Regions from separate parts of the Homo sapiens genome. Here region 1 is linked to region 2. Evidence: promoter capture Hi-C in human tissues and cell types (Jung and others, 2019). All regions are on one chromosome and are shown on one strand. Each heading gives the region's core, a stretch centred on a gene start or on the middle of the fragment in contact. The rest is flanking DNA. Distances are from core to core; before and after follow the strand shown.

Region 1 (3,572 bases), core at 185-2,684, 40 kb after region 2:
GGTTCTGTCCAGGGTAATTTGGTAAGTAAAAGCAATAAAAGATATCTAGATAGGAAAGGAAAAATTAAAACCATCTATATTTGCACGTGATGTGATCTGGTATATAGAAAATCCTAAGGCACCCACCCACCCACACAAACACACACACACACACAAAACCATTAGAACTAACACTAACAAGTTCAGCAAGTTTATAGGATATACAAAAATTAATTATATTTCTGTACCCTTGAAATGAACAACCCAAAAATAAAACTTCAAAAATAATTCCACTATATAGCATCAAAGAAAAGAAAATATTTGGGAATTAATTCAACAAAAGAAATGTCAAACTTTTTTTTTTTTTTTTTAATTTGTAGAGATGGGAGTCTCACTATGTTGCTCAGCCTGATTTTGAACTTCTGGGCTCAAGCAATCCTCACATTCAGCCTCCCAAAGTGTTGGGATTGCAGGCATGAGCCATTGTGCCCGGTCAGAAATGTCAAACTTAAACTCTGAAAACTACAAAATATTATTAAAGGAAATTAACAAAGATCTAAATAATTGAAAAGGCACCCCATCCCATTTTCATGGTTCAGATGATTTAATATTATTAATAGGAGGTCATGGGAGGATGACTGCTTGAGCCCAGGAGTTCCTGACCACCCTAGGCAACAAAGTGAGACCATATCTCCACAAATAACAATAATTTAAAAAAAAATTGCTAAGATAACACTATTCCCAAAATTGAAATACAGATTCAATCCAATTTTTCTCAAAATCCCAACTGCCTTCATTGCAAAAAATGACAAATTGCTCCTAAAGTTTGTATGGAAATTCAAGAGACTCAGAATAGCCAAAATAATCTTGAAGAAGAACAAAGTTCTTCTTTTGTGAGAACAAAATAACTTATATTTCTGATTGCAAAACTTACTACAAGGCTACAGTAATCAAGACAATGTTGTATAGGTATAAGGATAGATATAGATTAATGGAATAGAATTAAGATACAGAAATAAAACTTCATCTTCAGCTAAAAGTTGAGAGATGGGAAAAAATATTTTTTTAAAACCCTTTATGCTTACAATCAGCTGATTTTTTACACAGGTGCCAAGACAATTCAATGGGGAAAGAATAATGTTTTCAATACATGGTGTAAGCACAACTGGATATACACATGCAAAAGAATGAAGTTGGATCCCTATCTTAAACTATATAAAAACATTAAATGATTGAAAGGCCTAAATCTCAGAACTAAAATTATAAAACTCTTAGAAGAAAATGCAGAGGCAAATCTTTGTGACCTTGGATTTGACAGTGGTTTCTTAGATATTATACCACCAGAAGCACATTCAGGAAAAAATTGAAAAATCTGACTTTATCAAAATTAGAACAGATAACTCACTGAATAGGAGAAAATATTTAAAAATTATATGTCTGATAAGGGACATGTATCTAGAATATATAAAGAACTTTACTACTCAATAATAAAAAGATAGATGACCCAATTTAAAGGTGGGCCAAGGATCCAAACAGACATTTATTCAAAGAAGATATATGAACAACCAAGAAGCATATGAAAAGATACTCAGTATCATTAGTCATCTGGGAAATTCAAATTAAATCACAATGAGATATCACTTCACCTCCACTAGGATGGCTACAATCAAAAAGACATTATAACCAGTGTTGTGGATATAGAAATTTCAGAACACTCATCTTGCTGGTAGAATTATAAAATGGTACAGCCACTTTGAAAACTGAAAAACAGTTTTGCAGCTTCTTAAAAAGTTAAACATAAAGTTACCATATAACATAGCTATTCCAGCCAGGGGTGTGGTGGCTTATGCCTGTAATCCCAGCACTGTAGAAGCCTGGGCAGGATGATCACTTGAGCCCAAGAGTTTGAGATCAGCCTGAGTAACAGAGACCCCATCTCTGAAAAGAGAAGGGACGGGAGGGGAAGGGAGGGGAAGAGAGGGGAATGGAAGGGGGGGAGGGAGGAGGAAAGAGAGGGGAGGGGAGGGAAGGGAAGGGAGAAAGAAAGAAAGGCAGGCAGACAATTCTACTTCTAGGATATACCCAAGAAAATTGAAAGCTTATGTTTACACAAAAACTTAGACATGAATGTTCATAGCATAATGATTAATAATAGCCAAAAGTATAAGTAATGCAAATGTCCAGCAACTGATAAGTGAATAAACAAAGCATGGTATATCATACAATAGAATATTATTTAAACCTAAAAGGGACTAAATGTGCTACAATGTAAAATTAATCTAGAAAATATTACGCTAAGTAAAAGGCCACATATTGTATTATTCCATTTACATGAAATGCCTTCAAACCATGGAGATAGAAAGTTGATATTTAGTTGCCAGAGGCTGGAGAGACGGGTCAGTGAGAGTCATTGTTTCACGGGTACAGAGTTTCAGTCTGGGAAGATGAAAAAGTTCTGGATATGGATGGTGGTGATGGATGCACAACAATGTGAATGTACCTAATATCACTGAACTGTATATCTAAAAATGATTAAAATGGTCAATTTTATGTTTATATATATTTTACCACAATAAAGAATTATTTTCACAGAAAAAGGAGAGAGAGAGAGAGATGAATTGAATGTGGCAAAATCCTAATAATGGAATCTAGATGATGGGCATATAGTTATTTTTTTAAATACTCTTCTCTCTAATTTTGTTTGAAAATTTTTCATAACTAAAAACATAATATGGAGACAGGCAAAATAGGTGTCTTCTTGATGACAATTCAGCCTGATGGGGCAAATATATGGAAAAACTTGTTGCAAAACAAATAACAAACACAGCTTTGACCATGCCTTTCTCCTGCCTGAAAGCCCTCTGAGAGCATCGTATCACCTACAGGGAAAAAAGACTCTCTGTGACCCTCTCCTCTGCTCACCTTGCCACCTCATCCTGCTTCTCCCTGACTTCCATTTCTTGAGCAACACCAAATCCCTTGTAAATTTCCCAAACATGCCCTGATCTGTGCCATTCTTCATGCCATGTATGCACCCTGCTTAACAATCCAGTCTCCCTCCCTCTGCTTAACCTCTCCTTAAAAACTGGCTTGATCACCAGCTCCTCCAGGGAGTATCTTCTGACCCTCTGCTGAACTGTCCCTCATCTGTGTTTCCATAGCTCACTGTCCATAATTTGTCATAGCATCAAACACACCAGATTCAGACTACCAAATTTGTGCAAATGCACATACACACTCAGATCCCAAGAACCTAGAAACCGGTATATCAAAGGCATAGTGTGAATTCTGTGAAGGAGTTTCTGTACCAGGGAAAGCTCCACTAACTTTTAAACTTGCTAGGTATTTCTCCAGCTTTATGAACATTTAATGTCAGATATCCCTGCAGAGACCACTTAAAAGTTTACTTTTGCTCTAGGCTGAAAACAGTATACCTGAGGAAAAACAGTAACATGACTTACACCTTAGAAAATATCCACTTTTAGTTTTCGCCTAAATAGTGCAGGTAATTTTGAGTCTACAAGGCTTCTGAAAAAGAGCAGGGGATGCCAGGTGCTTGGGAGTGGGGGTTGAAGGGTGGAAATGGGACTTCA
Region 2 (3,082 bases), core at 576-3,075:
CCGGCCCCGCCGGCCCCAGGCAGTGAGGGGCTTAGCACCCAGGCCAGCAGCTGCGGAGGGTGCGCTGGGTCCCCCAGCAGGGCCGGCCCACCGGCGCTGCTGTTGATTTCTCGCTGGGCCTTAGCTGCCTACCTGCGGGGCAGGGCTTGGGACCTGCAGCCCGCCATGCCTGAGCCTTCCCCCTACCCCTACCCCTACCCCTACCCCCACCCCTACCCCCACCCCCACCCCCGCCGTGGGCTCCCGAGAGGCCCAAGCCTCCCAGACGAGCACTGACCCCTGCTCCACGGCACCCGGTCCCATCGACCGCCCAAAGGCTGAGGAATGTGGGCACACGGCGAGGGACTGGCAGGTAGCTTCACCTGCGGCCCCAGTGCTGGATCCACTGGATGAAGCCAGCTGGGCTCCTGAGTCCAGTGGGGACTTGGAGAACCTTTATGTTTAGCTAAGGGATTGTAAATACACCAATGAGCACTCTGTATCTAGCTCAAGGTTTGTAAATGCACCAATCAGCACTCTGTGTCCAGCTCAGGGTTTGTGGATGCACCAATCGGCACTCTGTGTCTAGCTAATCTGGTGGGGACTTGGAGAATCTTTATGTATAGCTAAGGGATTGTGAATGCACCAATCGGCACTCTGTATCTAGCTCAAGGTTTGTAAATGCACCAATCAGCACTCTGTGTCTAGCTCAGGGTTTGTAAATATACCAATCAACACTCTGTGTCTAGCTAATCTAGTGGGGACTTGGAGAACTTTTGTGTCTAGCTCAGGGATTGTTAACGCACCAATCAGCACCCTGTCAAAACGGACCAATCAACTCTCTGTAAAACAGACCAATCGGCTCTCTGTAAAGTGGACCAATCAGCAGGATGTGGGTGGGGCCAGATAGGAGAATAAAAACAGGCTGCCCGAGCAAGCAGCGGCAACCCGTTGGGGTTGCCTTTCTGGACTGTGGGTGCTTTGTTCTTTGTAATAAATCTTGTTGCTTGCTAACCCTTTGGGTCCCTACTGTCTTTGTGAGCTATAACACTCGCCGTGAAGATCTGTATTTGCAGCTCTTTCTTGAGGCCCGTGTGACCACGAACCCACCGAGAGCGAAGGAACAACTCCAGGTGTGCCCTCTTAAGAGATTTAACACTCATTGCGAAGATCTGCAGCTTCACTCCTGAAGCTAGCGAGACCATGAACCCGCCAGAAGGAAGAAACTCCAGACACGCAGTCTTTAAGAATTGTAACACCGCGATGGTCCGCGGTTTCATTCTTGAAGTCAGTGAGACCAAGAATCCACCATTTCCGGACACAATATGATATCAGGTTGGAATTTGATATTTTAGTTCTACAAAGATTCTGTTGTGTCAGTCCCCGTTGGGCCTAAACTCCGCAAGGGATGGGATATAATATCAGTGCATGTCCAACCGCCCCGCTCCACTCCCGCTTCCTGTAATGGCCATAACTAGTTTTTAAGGTTTCCTTCGGCAGAGAGGGAGGTCCATTCAGTCGGGTGCGGGCCTTAGAATTTTTTTGCTTCACACACCCCAGTTTCGCAATGTCCAGCCCTTGACAACCAACAGAGCACCTGTAGGAGCCCTGTGAAGTTGGTAAAGGGTTGGGGTTGTAATAGCTGTCCAGCAGACGGGGAGACAGGGGTTCAGAGAAGGTGGGCAACCACCACAGCAGGACGCAGCTCCCTACCGCCAGGGCTGGGAGTAGAAGCCGCAGCCTCCGCTCCGGCTCGGCCCCACGAGCACCCTGCAGGTGAAAAACTACAATTTCCAGAATGCCATTCGGAGCGGAGTTACGAAGCGGAAGCGAGGCCGGGGGCGGGGGGGATCCGATGCGCGCCGCTGCCGCTGCGTGGGGGTGAGGGGATCAGGTACGCTGTCCGCTGGTTAAGGGGGCTGGCTGGGGGCTGCGGGGTCTGTCCTGGGACGTCCGCCTCCCTCGCGGGTGGGGCGGACGTTGAGAAAGCAGCGTTTAGCAGTCATGTGGCCTGTGGTACTCCACCTTCCTGATACTTTCCCTTCCTGCTTCCACTCGCACGCTCAGCCTGTGGGCCGGGAGAGACCCGCAGGCGGGGTGCTCTCAGGCTGAATTCGATGTGCCATCACTTAGCGGCAGTGTAGGTACCCATCAGGTGGGAGTTAGGCTAGCAAAGGTCTGAGGCCTCTGCCAACCTAGGGTGGGGGTGCGGAGTGGAGGATTTATGAACTCAGCAAGTATTTATTAAGCATCTATAAGCAAACAACACTTGCCTACATTGAAGGGATGGAGGAGGTTCCGACAACAAGTAAAATAGGTTATGTTGGATAGTAATATGAATGAGGAGAGGAAGGTAGTCTGTGAGTGTCTTAGGGAAGAGCATTGAGGGTAAAGAGAACGGCGAATGTAAAGGCCTTGAAGGGTATGTTTGAGGAACAGCAAATAGACCCCGGAGTGCAGAGGAAACGAGAAAGGTAGACCTTAGTGATCTGCATAGGTCATTGTATGGATTTGGGCTATTTACTGTCAGTGAAATGGAGAGTACTGCAGGGTTCTAAGCAGAAGAGTGGTGATCATCAAATACTTAGGATGCTCACAGGGCTCGGGTACTGAGGGTGTACAGGTGAATTCTTCCAATTCTTCCCTGGGTTTATAATCTAGTGGGGAAACAGGTAGACAGCTGTCATGCAAGGCAGGGTCAGATAATTGGAGCCCCATGAAAGCAGAACGAATGTCATCCCCAAGTCCCCAGGATGTACTATTATGTCAGGTGCTTAGTAGCTTTGTTGAACGAAAGTAATGAATATTCAGCATCGGACCCATAATTGGAGGCTCAGAAAAGATGTTTAATGAAGAAATGAAAAATAAATGAAATCTCACTTCTTGATACTGTTACAATGGCAATTAAGTTTCAACCTGAATGTGAGAAGGGGACAAACATTCAAACCAGAGCAGCACTCAAATTCATAAGATAGGAAATACAAAGGTGCTGCCAGGATTGGGGAAGGGAGAGTTATATAAAGGTCACAGGGTCGGGTGTGGTGGCTCACGCCTGTAATCCTAGCACTTTGGGAGGCCCAGACAGGTGGGTCGCGAGGTCAGG

The links. Contacts are between HindIII fragments. The study calls those that stand out against the background at their distance.
Region 1: a fragment that was not itself captured here is called in contact with the fragment with the promoter of TRMT10B in region 2 in 2 of the 25 tissues and cell types used here (H1 embryonic stem cells and psoas muscle).

What each region holds. Positions count from the first base shown.
Region 1 is chr9:37,792,372-37,795,943 of GRCh38, forward strand. The region is part of intron 2 of LOC105376037 (a long non-coding RNA gene); the gene reads right to left. Among named protein-coding and RNA genes, the nearest start is that of DCAF10, 6.6 kb to the right of the region's middle. The HindIII fragment of the contact is 4,652 bases long and covers 1-3,572 here.
Region 2 is chr9:37,751,980-37,755,061 of GRCh38, forward strand. TRMT10B (tRNA methyltransferase 10B) reads left to right here and starts at 1,826. Exons shown (of 9, transcript NM_144964.4): 1 at 1,826-1,873. RefSeq lists a silencer at 1,736-1,970. The HindIII fragment of the contact is 14,807 bases long and covers 1-3,082 here.